Linked DNA regions of Homo sapiens: all the other regions are linked to region 1. Evidence: promoter capture Hi-C in 16 types of primary human blood cells and fetal thymus (Javierre and others, 2016). All regions are on one chromosome and are shown on one strand. Each heading gives the region's core, a stretch centred on a gene start or on the middle of the fragment in contact. The rest is flanking DNA. Distances are from core to core; before and after follow the strand shown.

The links. The method cuts DNA at HindIII sites, captures the fragments that hold promoters and counts their contacts. A CHiCAGO score of 5 or more calls a contact.
Region 2: a contact is called between a fragment that was not itself captured here and the fragment with the promoter of PDE12 in region 1, in 2 of 17 cell types (endothelial precursors and megakaryocytes). The highest score is 7.3, in endothelial precursors.
Region 3: a fragment that was not itself captured here is called in contact with the fragment with the promoter of PDE12 in region 1 in 1 of 17 cell types (endothelial precursors); the score reaches 5.6 in endothelial precursors.
Region 4: a fragment that was not itself captured here is called in contact with the fragment with the promoter of PDE12 in region 1 in 2 of 17 cell types (M1 macrophages and endothelial precursors); the score reaches 5.8 in M1 macrophages.

Annotation. Positions count from the first base shown.
Region 1 is chr3:57,554,194-57,557,600 of GRCh38, reverse strand. It overlaps PDE12 (phosphodiesterase 12), which reads right to left and starts at 1,327. Exons shown (of 3, transcript NM_177966.7): 1 at 1-1,327. The coding sequence starts at 1,221. It also overlaps a transcript of DNAH12 not described here. RefSeq lists enhancers at 394-563, 1,054-1,833. The HindIII fragment of the contact is 2,707 bases long and covers 483-3,189 here.
Region 2 is chr3:57,830,411-57,834,221 of GRCh38, reverse strand. SLMAP (sarcolemma associated protein) reads right to left here. Exons shown (of 25, transcript NM_001377540.1): 3 at 2,692-2,839. Among named protein-coding and RNA genes, the nearest start is that of SLMAP, 76 kb to the right of the region's middle. RefSeq lists an enhancer at 2,025-2,526. The HindIII fragment of the contact is 659 bases long and covers 1,772-2,430 here.
Region 3 is chr3:57,847,355-57,850,854 of GRCh38, reverse strand. It overlaps SLMAP (sarcolemma associated protein), which reads right to left. Exons shown (of 25, transcript NM_001377540.1): 6 at 1,039-1,101. Among named protein-coding and RNA genes, the nearest start is that of SLMAP, 93 kb to the right of the region's middle. The HindIII fragment of the contact is 2,960 bases long and covers 1-2,786 here.
Region 4 is chr3:57,268,325-57,271,823 of GRCh38, reverse strand. It overlaps APPL1 (adaptor protein, phosphotyrosine interacting with PH domain and leucine zipper 1), which reads right to left. Exons shown (of 22, transcript NM_012096.3): 21 at 3,337-3,426; 22 at 1-2,283. The coding sequence ends at 2,137. ASB14 (ankyrin repeat and SOCS box containing 14) reads left to right here. Exons shown (of 11, transcript NM_001142733.3): 11 at 2,206-3,482. LOC105377102 (a long non-coding RNA gene) reads right to left here and starts at 2,258. Exons shown (of 3, transcript NR_135535.1): 1 at 2,073-2,258. The HindIII fragment of the contact is 537 bases long and covers 1,501-2,037 here.

The DNA.
Region 1 (3,407 bases), core at 78-2,577:
GGACTCGAGGGCTTCGTAGAATGAAATGTCATGCTGGCTAAGAAGGCTGAACTTAGACTTTCGGTAGAAAGTGGCCAGGCCTTCGTGCTGCTTGATTCGAAACACCCCCTCGAGCCCGAAGGCCTCTAGGGCGGGTACCAAGCTGTCAGAAAACACTGCGCGGTCAACCTCCTGCAAACAGATGACATCGGCGTTGTAGCCGGTGAGTTCCTTCTGGATAAGGTTCTGGCGGTAGTCGAGCTCCAGGGCGTAGGGGGCACAGTATGGGTACAGAACCGTTCGCGAGAACTCAGTCTGCGCGTACGTGTCTGCCAGGATGTTGTAAGAGACAGTGCGGATGAGAGCGTCCTCAGTCACCTTCTTCGTGTAGAGATGCCGGTGGTCAAAAGTGCAGGTGCCAGGCCCAGCCTCTACCACACACACACTTTCCAACTCCCGGCTGTGCCCAAAGCGCTGCCCATCGCCTGGGGTGCAGTGAAGCTTGAGCCTTAGCCCGATGTCGGCATTGGACGGGGTGTAGACACGCTCCTCCACATCAGTCTCAGTCCAAGAAGAAGAAGGTGAGGAGGGAGACAATGACGAGGGGACACCGACCTCGGGCTCCGCCGCTCCGGGCTTGGCTTCCTTATACCAGCGGAAAAGGGAGCTGGCGGGATCCCCAAATTCGAGGCTGAGTTTGGGGCACACAGGGAACCCGGCCATGATGTAGCGCGGCAACTGCAGTTCGGTGAAGGCGGGCGGGTTGCGCTCCACCTTGTACTTAACATCGCCGATCTGCAGCACCGCGCCGTCTTGCCAGGCATCCACGTTGAGCACGTCCTCAGCCACTGCCTCTTCCCGGTAGTACAGCTTCACCACGGGCTCGCAGAACACAGCCGGCTCAGGCCCCGGCCCTGAACAGGCCGCACCGCCGCTAGCATTCGGCCGGCTCTTCCTGCTCTTCTTGGCGGCGGCCGCCTTAGCGTGACCCTTTAGGGCATTGGTAGCGATGCGGCTGAGGACTCGACCCAGCGGCTCGCTCTGGTCGCGCTGCATGTTCTTGTGGCTACCATCAGCCAAAGCGAATGACAGGCTCAGCTTGGGTTCCGAAGGTACGCAGCGCACTACAGCGCGCTCCATCGCTCCCGCCGCTGTCTGGCTCCCCGCTTCAGCCCGGCTCAGCTTCTCCACCGCCGTCCGGATCACCCGAAGCGCGGCGCGGGCGCCTGGGAGCCTCCACATGAACCTGGTGGCCTAGCGGTCGACAAGACCCGCGGCCGATCAGCGGCCTACTGTCAGGTGGAGCTGAGGAGCCGAGGCCGCCGGCTTTGACTCATTCAGATCTCGCGACTTCCGGCTAGCGAAGAGAGGGAATGAAGTGCTTCCGACTCGCACTTTCGCCTAGCGCGTGGGCACGCATGTCTGTAATACTCTGAAGATTAATTTTTACCTACACGATAGGTCAGAATTATAGGGAAGTGAAGAAAATATAAAGGTGTCAGAGGAAAATACTAGATTCCACGGTTTTGTCGAAAGTGCATGCTGGTGACGGGAGGGCATGCCCTCCAAGCCGGAAGTGGATAGGGTGGTGTCACGTGTTCCGCTTCGTTGGAGGAGGTGGACACCTGTCTTGGAATCTTGGCTGACCAGCTCTCCTCCCTGCGCCCGGGACTGGACTGCGCTAGGACGTGGAGGCCTCCACCCGGATTGCGAGCTTTACTCGCAGTGTGGAAGGTGTTGCCCATTTCATCTCCACAGCTTTGCCGACCCTGATCGCTCGTTTCGGTGGCCTGGTGGGTTCACCCCAGGCTGAGCCAGCGCCTACGCACCTCTGAGCAGAGCCTTTGTGGTAGTTAACAACGAACGATATACAATAACTCCGTTTAGTGAGCGCAGACTATGCGAGAAACGCTACACACACTATCTTATTTAAGCCTCATAGTTCTTATGAGGTAGGTCTCTTTATCCATCGCTTTACAGATGCAGAGTCCCGAGATATTACCTGCTCAGGGTCACACAACTATTAATTGGCAGAAAGAAATAGTACTGACAAACTGCGGAAGGCTGTTTGTTATTTTTTATTAGAGACAGGTTGTCACTTTGACGCCCAAGCTGGAGTGCAGTGGCCTGATCATAGCTCACTGCCCCCTCGAACTCCAGGGCTCGTGCGATCCTCCCGCCTAACCCTCTCAAGTACAAACAGGCAAGAGCCACCCAGTGTTTATTTTTAGTTAGTAAATAGGAAGACTCTATTTAGTTACTACATTTAACAAATAAAATTACAGGATCTCAGTTAAATTCAATTTCAGATAAGGAATAATAATGGGGCATATATTAAGAAATAGTTGTTTATCTGTTTATTTTATTTTTTTATTTTTTAGGTAGGGCCTTGCTCTTTCACCCAAGCTGGAGTGCAGCTGTGCGATCTTGGCTTACTGCAACTTCGGCTTCCAGAGTTCAAGCGATTCTCGTGCCTCAGCCTCCCAAGTAGCTGGGACTACAGGCACACACCACCACGCCCAGCTAATTTTTGTATTTTAGTAGAGAAGGGCTTCACCATGTTTCCTGGGCTGGTCGCGAACTCCTGGCCTCAAGCAAGCCCCCCGCCTTACCCTCCCAAAATTCTGGGATAACAAGTGAAAACCACCTCCCCTGGCCTAAGGAATCGTGCACTTTATTGCTATTTCTTTTAAAGGTCTTAAAGACGCCGGGCCCAGTGGCTCACGTCTGTAATCCCAGCACTTTGGGAGGCTGAGGCGGGTGGATCGCCTAAGGTCAGGAGTTCGAGACCAGCCTGGCCAACATAGTGAAACCCCGTCTCTACTAAAAATACAAAAAATTAGCTGGGCATGGTGGCGCACACCTGTAATCCCAGCTACTAGGGAGGCTGAGGCAGGAGAATCGCTTGAACCTGGGAGATGGAGGTCATAGTGAGTTGAGATCATGCCATTGCACTCCAGCCTGGGCAACAAGAGTGAAACTCCGTCTCAAAACAAAACAAAAAAAGGTCTTGAAGAACGAATGAATTGCTTTACCTGTAGACCAGAAAGAGGTCCAGTGTGATGAGTAAGGTGAGACCAGGGGAGAGTAGCAGATAAGAAAGATATGCATCCACCAAATTGTGTAGTGCATTCTAAGCCATAGTATGAAGTTCTGGATTTCTTCTAAGAGGGCCATTAGAGTTGTTTTGCTTGCAATTATGGAAAAGCTTTAATTTTCATTTTCTTGAAAGGGGAAAAGCTAAAAACATTTGGTTTTAATTGCAAGAAAAAAGGTGTTTGATACTGTAATTGTCATTGGCCTCCATGTAATTATTTTTTTATTTTTTTATTTTTGAGATGGAGCCTCACTCTGTCACCCAGGCTGGAGTGCAGTGGTGTGATCTCGGCTCACTGCAGCCTCCACCTCCCGGGTTCAAGCGATTCTCA
Region 2 (3,811 bases), core at 852-3,351, 280 kb before region 1:
TTTACTTATTCGTTTTCTAATTTCTTCTGATTAGTGTCAGATTTCTTAATTGTCTTTCTTCTTTAACATGAATGGAATTTAAGATTATTAATTTTATCTGACTAAAAGACTTACTGTATTTTGGCATAAAAGTCTCCTCTCTTTACAATACAGTGTGAAATTTCCCTTTTGATTTCCTCTTTGATCCAGGGGTTATCTAGTAGTGTTGCATAATTTCAGGAGCATTCTCCAAGTGATACAAAAGTTATCACAGCACTGTTTAGCATAGGATAAAAATCAATACTTTTTTTCTGGTATGTCCTTAAACAGGTAGTACTCAACTGGTGACACAGCTGTATCCCAAGAGCCCGTGCTTAACATAAGTCAACTTTTTGAAGCCAGTAAGTACCAAAAGAAACAACATTTTAAATGTTGCAAGTTTTTTTTTTTTTAAATCTAATCTCCTTAAAGTTAGCATAAAAGATAAATCAAATTTCACAGAAGACTGTAAAAATCTAATGTTACTGGCCAGGCGTGATGGCTTAGCCTGTAATCCCAGCACTTTGGGAGGCTGAGATGGGCAGATCACGAGGTCAAGAGAACGAGACCATCCTGGCCAACATGGTGAAACCCCGTCTCTACTAGAAATACAAAAATTAGCTGGGCATGGTGGCATGCACCTGTAGTCCCAGCTACTCGAGAGGCTGAGGCAGGAGAATCACTTGAGCCCGGGAGACAGGTTGCAGTGACTGGAGATGGTGCCACTGCACTCCAGCCTGGCAACAGAGTGAGACTCCGTCTCAAAAAAAAAAAACTAATGTTACTAAAATAAGATTATACTAAGAGGAACCTTGAATCTCAGGGTCATCTTCTTAGCTTTCTATAGCATTTTCTAAAGAGTATCCCTCACAGATAGACCCTCACAGATAGATGGGAAAAAACAGTGGAAAGGAGTTTGGAAAGAGTTGCATTCTATAATGGCCACCTCCTTGGAAATCTGCATATATGTTAGCATATTAAAAGCTCCAAGAAGTCCTGCTTATCTTACCTAAGTATTCTCTAAATGTATTTCATTACCTCATCCTTTTTGTCAATCAACACCTAATAATTCCCTTTAGGAAATGCAAGCCAAGAAGACAGACATTCCTTGGAGAGAAAGACAATGTAATCAAATTCTCTTTTTCTCTATGGGTTACTCACAGTTGGGGTTCCATTTAATGAGCTCGGTTTACTGTTTGCTGAATGACTTGTAGGTGTGATATGGCAACAGCAGATATAGGAGTGTCTAATGCAGCTGTTCCCAGTATGGTCATATATAAGTTGAATTCTCTTAGTAAGAAGTGTCAATATTCTTTACCAAAATACAAACCTTTCTTTTTTGGTTTACAATTGTAAATGGAAATTCCTAAGATGTTGGCCCTGCCCAAATTCAAATATCAAAACCTAACTTTCTGAGGAGGCCAAAAAAACCCATTAAAAATAATACTGCTGTTGCAATACCAGTGAAAGTATATGCATAAATATGCATATGAACACACACACACCAGCATCATCAGCATTATCATCATCACCACCATCACCATCTCTACTATGCAAAATTCTGACCAGTATCACCAGATCAGAGTATGTTCAGACAAATGAAAGGAGAAACTTGCCAAATGGTTGCACTATCCATATTAAACTAATGAAGTGGAACTAAACACTTATGGTTTTTATCCATTTAGTTTTATGATTTAGCTATATAATTTCATGGTCATAAAGAAGACCGTGAACTAGGTAGAGGCAGGAAGCTTCTGAATTGTAAAAACAAAGATCAATCTACATTTATTTAGCTAAAGAACTTTCAAAAATTGTGAGACATTAAATTTTATTTTATACTTGTGATAGCTACTATTAGCTGCCTACCTCTACTACCTTTCCATCTTCTTTCTTGCTAAGAGAGCTCTAATTTTGTTTGGGGTAACAATGTACACACAACCTGAAGGAATAAATCAAAACTGATCTATGTCAATCATAGATCTTCTTGCTCCCTTTCACGAGATTAAGTAACTTCACCAGACTTCTTTGTAGCTGCAGGTAACTATGTATGCGATCTACCCATGTGGCCAGTGAGACCTAAGGAGAAATCTGCTGGGAGGATTCTGCAAAAGATTGTTCTTTCAACATAAGAAGAGAGCCACACAAGAAGGCATTTTATCCCCGCCTCATCCTTTTTGCCTAGGATACTGGTGTGAGGAAAATGATGCCTGGGGCTTGCAGCCATCATCTTATGACCATGAAGCAACAACCAAAAGCATGAGAAACTAAAATGTTTAAGACAGTAGAACAGGAAGACAGTAAGACCCTGGATCCCTGATGATCTCATTGAGTCAACTGAACAAATGAACCTATCTGCCTCCAGATCTCTCATTAAGTCTCATCATCAATAATAAATATCCTGTGATTTAAGCTTGTCTTGGTGGGGTATGCTGTCATTGCAGCTGACTGGTCCCTGACTGTGATGAAGAATATAAACTACTAAATAACACTTCAGAATTTAAAATTTTAGAAGAGCAATACGGAAAGTATGAGACTTTTAACTTTTCACTGTATATAATGCTGTATTTAAATCGCTTTCACAAGCATGTAATGTTTCATAATGTCAAGTAAGATAATAAAAAATTAAATAACCTTTAAAAGACAAGTAATAAAAAAAGTGATCCATACCCGTACCTTTCCGTGTATTCTCTGTCACGTCTACTCCAAACTGGATAATGTCACCGGAAAGAATTTCACATGGTGGACTTTCTTCAGAGCCTCGACTCAATCTCTGGCTATTTATAAAAGTACCATTACTACTTTTAGTGTCTTGAAGATAAAACTGCAAAAAAAAACAAAAACAAAAAAGGGCCAAATATTAATAGTAATAATTCCAAATGTACTTTTTAAAAAAATGCTTCCAGCTTTGCCAACTATTGCAAGTGAATTTTTCCCCTATTAATTCAAACCACTCATTTCAGCTAAGGTTCTCCTTTAATATATATGAAATTAGAATCTGAAAACTAGGTGATTTAAAATTCAGCTACATAAAACGGTACAACCTCTTTGGAAAAAGAGTTTGTCAGGTCCTCAAAATGTTAAACATAAAGTTAGTATACAACTCAGCAATTCCACTCCTAGGTATACATCCAAGAGAACTAAAAACATGTTCTCATAAAAACTTCTACACAAATGTTGGCATTATTCATAATAGCCAAAAAGGGAAAATAATCCAACTATCCATCAACTGATAAATGAATAAACAAATGTGGTAGACATTCATATAACTGAATATTATTTGGCAATAAAGGGGTGAAGTATTGATAACATGCTATAACATGAATGAACGTTTAAAACATTATGTGAAGTAAAAGAAGTCAGTCACAAAAGACTGATGTATTATAATGATTCATTTTATATGAAACATCCAGAATAGGCAAAGCTATACAGACAAAAAGTACATGAGTGCTTACAAAAGGCTGAAGTGGCAGGTAGGAATGGGATGGGTACAAGGTTTCTTTTTGAGATGATGAAAATATTCTAAAATTAGTGGTGATGGTTGTCCAAATTTGCTTCTCATCACTTGGGTAACCCTCCCTCTTTAAAAACAGAAAGGATAGCAGGAGGCACAAGAAGCCTACCTATTTATCACTTACAAATCCTTAAAAATTTCAGCACAACTGGGATCACACACAATAGACTTACTAGGAAGAGAACCACCAGTAAAAAAAGACGTACCTTTCTTTTTCGATTTTTCTACACTCTTCAGCCCTACTTATTTTAGTAACACATTTTCGCTGAATTTCTTCCTAAG
Region 3 (3,500 bases), core at 57-2,556, 290 kb before region 1:
GAGACCACCCTGGGCAACATGGTAAAACCCTGTCTCTACTAAAATACAAAAAATTAGCCAGCTGTGGGTGGTGGATGCCTGTAGTCCCAGCCACTCAGGAGGCTGAGGCAGGAGAATCGCTTGGGCCCAGGAGGCAGAGGTTGTAGTGAGCTGAGATTGTACCACTGCACTCCAGCTTGGGCTACAGAGTGAGACTCCATCTCAAAAATAAAACAGAATAAAATAAAATAAAACAAAACAAAAGTCATCTATGGATAAAGAATTGTTTTGGGGCTCGGCATGGCGGCTCACACCTATAATCCCAGCACTTTGGGAGGTTGAGGCAGGAAAAAGACTTGAGCCCAGGAGTTCGAGGCTGTAGTGAGTTCTGATCATGCCACTGCACTTCAGCCTGAGAGACAGAGCGAGACCCTGTCTCCAAAAAAATTTGAAAACAGATTTTTAAAAACTGTTTTGGAACCTCCTCATACTTGAACAAAAAAATTCCTCTTGTACAAAGGCTTTTCTCTAGATTTAATGTTGACTCTTTTATCTTTCTTCATAAGATCTACTTTTAATCCTTTGTTCTTTTTTGAAAAGACAGTATTTCTTTTCTATTTGCATCCAGCCATTTTTTTATCCTATATTTGTGAATTTGCAAAATAAAATATAAGTTGTTTAATTCTGCCCTTCTTTTCTTCAGACAGGGTCTTGCTCTGTTGCCTAGGATGGAGTGCAGTGGTGCCATCAAAGTTCACTGCAGCCTCGACCCCCTGGGCTCAAGTAATCCTCTCACCTCCACCTCCCAAGTAGCTGGGACTACAGATGCACGCCATCACACCTGGTTAATTAAAAAAATTTTTTTAAATTAAAGGGGTCTCACTTTATTGCCCAGGTTGGTCTCAAACTCTTGGCCTCAAAGAATCCTTCTGCCTAGGCCTCCCAAAGTCCTGGGATTACAGGCATTAGCCACCATGCCTGGCCCTAATTCTGCTTTTAAGAACTTTTAAAAGTTTAAAAGAAATTCTGCTTTTAAGAAGTCTCAAGATGTACTTTTACCTGTAGATACTGAGAAAGCTGGAATAGTTCCTGAGAGTACATACTTGGAGTGTTAGCAGCAACCTAGAAACAAATGACACAGTATCAACAGAAAACACTTCATAAAGAACATTAAAGACAAACCAATTTCTTGAAATGTCTACTTACTTAAATATGCAAAATAACTGTTATTAAAATCACAAATTTATAGCACAAAGGCAATATAGCCTTTTAAATTTTTTTCTTTTCTGACGGAAATATAGCCGTTTCTTAATCCAGAAATAAAACCTCCTAATCAACAGATCCACATATTTTCCCTTTAAAATTCATCATTAAATACTTCTTTAATATTTTAACAAGCCTCATTCATTTAGAAGTAGCCATCTTCAAAATGGTATTTTTATGTGGTATAGGTAGGGCAGGGGCATGAAATACAACACTTTGTCCAGTGGCCTGAGGCAATGTTTCTTGAAATCCATAGGTAGGTTTTAAGAAAAAAGATGGGAAGTAATGGTGTTTAAACACTGTAAGTCATAGTCAAACTATTTAGAACTCAAGAGTATTATAAGGAATATCTTCTATAAGGGTTTTTTCAAGGCTGTAGAATATAGAACCATGGCATTATTAAAAAGAAAAACAAACAAAAAAGGGCCGGGCGCAGTGGCTCATGCCTGTAATCCCAGCACTTTGGAAGGCCGAGGGGGATGGATCACCTGAGGCCAGGAGTTCGAGAGACCAGCCTGGCCAACATGGTGAAACCCCGTGTCACGCTACTGCACTTCAGCCTGGACGACAGAGCGAAACTCCATCTCAAAAAAAAAAGAAGAAGGGCCAGGTACGGTGGCTCACGCCTGTAATCCCAGCACTTTGGGAGGCCGAGGCAGCCAGATCACCTGACGTTGGGAGTTCAAGACCAGCCTGACCGACATGGAGAAACCCCGTCTCTACTAAAAACGTAAAATTAGCAGGGCATGGTGGCACATGCCTGTAATCCCAGCTACTTGGGAGGCCAGGGCAGAAGAATCGCTGGAACCTCGAAGGCGGAGGTTGCAGTAAACTGAGATTGCACCATTGCACTCCAGCCTGGGCAACATGAGTGAAACTGTCTCAAAAAAAAAAAAAAAAAAAGGAGTAGGAGGAGGAAGAAAGAAGAAGGAAGGAAGAGGAAAAAGAAGAAGGAAGGAGGAGGAGGAAGAAAAGGAAGAGGAAGAAGAAGAAAAAGAAGAGGGGGAGGAGGAAGGAGGAAGAGGAGGGAGCAGGAAGAGGAAGAAAAAGGAGAAGGAGGGAGGAAAAAGGGAAGGAAGAAGGAGAAAGAAGGAAGAAGAAGAAAGAAGAAGGAAGTAGGAGGAGGGAGGACGAAGAAAAAAACGAGTAAGAAGAAAGAAGGAAGAAGGACGAAGAAGAAAAAAGAAGGAAGAAGAAAGAAGGAAGAAAGAAGAATAAGAAGGAAAAAGAAAGAAGGCAGAAGGAGGAAGAAAGAAGAAAGTAAAAGGAAGAAACAGGAGGAGGAGAAGGGGGAGAAGAAGGGAGAGAAGGAGGAGGAGAAAGAGGAGGAGAAGATGGAGTAAGAGGAGGAGGAGGAGGAGAAGAAGGAGAAAAAACCAAGAAGGAGGAAAAGGAGGAAAGAAGAAAGAAAAGAAGAGGAGGAGGAGGAGGAGGAGCAGGAGCAGGAGGAGAAGAAGAAGGAAGAAGGACTACTGGGTTGCTGTAATATTCACCCCTATGTGTCAGCTTATTAATGATGTTATAGCACCAGTCCTTATTAAGCTTGGAAAGTATACTTTAATTAATATGCTGACGAGACAGCAGAGAGTTGGCATTATTTTTTAAATTTAGTTCTAAATTAGCAGGACCATTATTTACTTCTGAATAATCTTTGGTATTGCAGAAGTTGATGATTAACCACTTTTACTTTTAAAAAAGGAGTCTAACAGAGAACTTCAGTTTTAAGCAGGCTTTCATTCTTCATTCAAATGGAAGAAAAACATAAAATATTTTTTCCACTAGTTTAGTTACTGCACTAAGAAAACTAGACTCTCACATTAATGTCAAAAGATGTATTTTGGGGGGCTAATTAGCAATGAAACCTATAATTGAATAAACCATTATTTCTGAACAAAAGAAAAATGCTTTCTAGCAAGCAATTATTGCAAAGTTTCTGATCAGATCAGGTAAAAAGTAACCTTCAAAGAAAATAAAAGAACAATTTTTGTAAGCCTGTATTTCTGTATTACCTCCCTGTATTGGGAAATGTTGAGTGAACTATTTAGGTAGAAACTTAAACAAATTTCTAGACAGACTTGTATCTCAGAATAAAAAGTAACAGCGAATACTCCTTATCCCTGGCTAGACACAAAACAGGTACTCCTAGTTTACACAGTGAATAATTTAACTGAGATAACAAAGCCTTTTTCTGAAGAAACATCCATCTTAGATTCTCCAGATATTGAAGATCAGAAGATTATAATAACTATATAGCTATA
Region 4 (3,499 bases), core at 520-3,019, 290 kb after region 1:
TCGATCTGACCTATGGAGATGATGGGTTTATTATTGTAGAAATTCCTGTGAACATGACTTAAAACGAACTACAGGTCTGTCCAGCATCCCTAAGTCTGCCAGTGCCTTAACTCTAGCCTACACTATGACCCAGGGTGCTGATAAAGGGCAGCACTTGCTACCATGCAAAGCACCAGCTTAGTAAAGCTGCCTCCTAATGATGAACACCTTCCTTGTAGAGTAACAGATTTCATCTGAACTAAGTGAGGTGACAATTTGTAGTATAAACAAAAGACTTAATGGAACAGAAAGCTCCAGTCTCCAAAAGGTCTTAAAAACAGGACTTGCCATGACTACTTAAATGCTGGCAACAGAATAAATTCCAACTTTAACAAAACAAAAGAACTGATACACTATTGTGAAAGCATTCCTTTTGGTAAGCACAAAATAAACTTTTTATCAAAAGTATTTCATAAATTTCTACTTTTTTACTGTATGTTTTGGTAACATAAAGCATCAGTAAATAAACATTACACCCATTTGGCACATGGATAGAAGGAATATCATGATCCTATATATCATTATCCTATTCCTACAGAAAACAATGTACATATACAGTGTGAAACAGCTGAGTTATATTTTGAGACCTAAAACAGATGCCATTTCTAATGCAGAACTAAGAAGAAAAAACTGTATATCAAAGAAAAAAAAAGGCTTTTTCCCTTGTAAAATTATTAAAGTCTTAGTGGCTAACCTCTTGAAAAATTTGTAAATGTGTGACTATGTAAAGTATTTTACCCACTATATTAACTTTGTATATATATACTTTTTCATGTGAAACACATGAAAACATAATTTCTATTAGCAGTGTTAAAAGTGATTACAGAAAAAAAATTAAGGTTTAACATAAACAATAGGCAGTAGAGAAATGTTATTTTAACCTTGGCACCAGGTTAAATCCTTCCTTGGTCAACTTCTCCTATACTCTACTAGGCATTCAATTCATTTTCAATCTTTCACAAAATTGGACCTTTTACTCATTTGAAGAGTAGACATATTTACAATAATTAGTGCAAATTATTCTATTATCATACATTAGTTATTTGCCTTTGTGGATATAAAGTGGTGATTCAGTACTTTATCAAAACATGGCATTATGAAAATACTGGGAATATATCAGTCTGAAATTTAAAAGATTACATTTTCTAAACTAAACTCTGGGAATTTTTACTTTAAGCATGAAACATAATTGTTATAGAACTTCTTTTGAAATGTCACTTGACTTTCAATAAAAACTATTTCACACAATGCAGAAAATACAATGTATCATTCCATAGCAGTATCTTTACTTGTCAATCCTAATCTAAAATGTATTGAACAAAAATCTTTTAATAAATTCCAATATCTTATTTTTAACCACTACTGCTCTGCAGCAGTAATTGAAGTCCCAACCTGAGAACTAAGAATGTGATAATAAAATGCCAAGGGCTCTATCAATCTTGAACTGAAGACACTTAAGCTTCTTTCCTACTGGCATCAAGTGCAGTACATTAGAGAAATGTGAGCAATCCCAGAAAGTACCCTGAGATCAACAGTACCACCTGCCACAATTTGAAACCTTAACTGTAAAATCTCTGTTCTAATTATTTTATAAAAGTTCTATTGCACATTTAATATTGTTAAAATATTTGCAAACTTGTAGAATTCTCTGTATAAAGGGCTTTAAACTTATTCAGCTAAATGCTTCCTCATCACCAGCAAAATGTTCCTAATGAAAGAAAAGCATATCCATGAATGTCTAAGCCTGAAGAATAAATGATTTCTTATGGACACAGCCAATTACAATGCAAGAATTAAAAGTTCACAATTTGACGGAAAAAATTCTTGAGCAAATGTAATTCCTCAGCAGTCTGCTTCAGGGAGATGAGCAGGTTTCCTTTAGATGTTAATACATAGTACATTATGTTTAAGGGGGAAAAAAGATCAATGCAAACCTAAGTCATCAAGTTCAATCTTTTTTTTAAAATGTAGCTACAACAAATAAGCAAATATAAAGCTTAATCTCCTCCTTGATATTTCAACATAGTTGTTACCTTCTGCCATTTCACCATAGAAACTGTCAAATTCCAAGGGGGAATATCTACCAAAAGTATAAGCTTATGCTTCTGATTCTCTCTTCTTTCCTCCTTCTCCCAAATCACTCTCTTCTGACTGGCTACTGCTAAGGACAACAAACTGCCCCTCACTACTGGCTTGGTTTGGTCTACTGGAAGCAGCTATCAACCGACTTTGTTCTTCCAAGTCCTAGTGGAAAAGACAAAAAAGAAACTAAGTTACTTGTCTGCAGTCAAATGGCAAATTATGCAGTTAAGATACATTCTTGAGAGCCACTTCTTCTGTCATAAATATGTATGCATACTTCTGACAACTTGATAAAAAGAAAAGCTACACCCAAACAATACAACACCAAAATGAATTTTGGCACCATCCTATAAAAGCCAGCATTCAAACTAAAATCTAATATTTTATCTTTCTTTTTTTATGACCAACAACCAAATAAAGCCCATCATCAATCATCTCTCACTATATATTATAGTAAAACCCTCGAAAGGGATCACCCCCACACTCCTTTCCCTTCCCCTCTCCAGCCCTTTTCTCCATCCCTGTCCAATTCATCTTTGCTAAATCAGGTGTCACCTTCCCTCAGCCTCGCCTATCAAGAAAGCCTCACTTCAATGTCATCTTTGCCACTTCCCTCTTCTTTGTCCAGAGAGCCAGCCCACAGCCAATGCTTATTGATCTGTTCTAAGCATCCCAGCTGTCTCCTCTTTTCTATTCCTACTGTCAATCTACAACCCATAACACGCTCTTACAATTTCATGGATCATTTAATGCATTCTTCAAGTTTTGCTCTGAAATTTGTCTTTTAAAATTATTCTGTTGGATGGACAATGATTTGACACTCCTGGCAATATTAAAAATATACATTTCATTATATATTTCATATAACATATATATTTATTTATTTCCCCCCCATAGAAGGCAAAATGGCTTTCAGCAATGGCAGTTAAGTCTACACAGCCTCTCAACTGCTTTGACAGAGACAACCTCCTCTGAAATATTAAAGTTCTGGTATATTTTTGAAACAGTCATATTACATGTCAACGTAACTATAATGTAAACATCATATCAAAAAACAGATGTGACCCTTTTCTGCTATGGTATGAATCATCTGTTTATGAAGTGGCTGAACAAGCAGAAACAGCCCTTCATTTGGAAATTCAAATCTGAAAGTCATAGTGCTGAATTAAGTCTTCACAAACAACACATAAAGATCCAGACATTAGGACTGTATACCTTTTCAATCTGTTTTTGTTTATTGAGTTCTTTCTGTTGCTTCTCTTTTACTCTCTCTATTTCTTTTTGTTTTTCTGATGCCCTACGATCCTAAAGAACAGATGAATAAAACTAATGAATTAAATATGAAATAACTTTAAATTTTAGACATTTCAGTTAATAT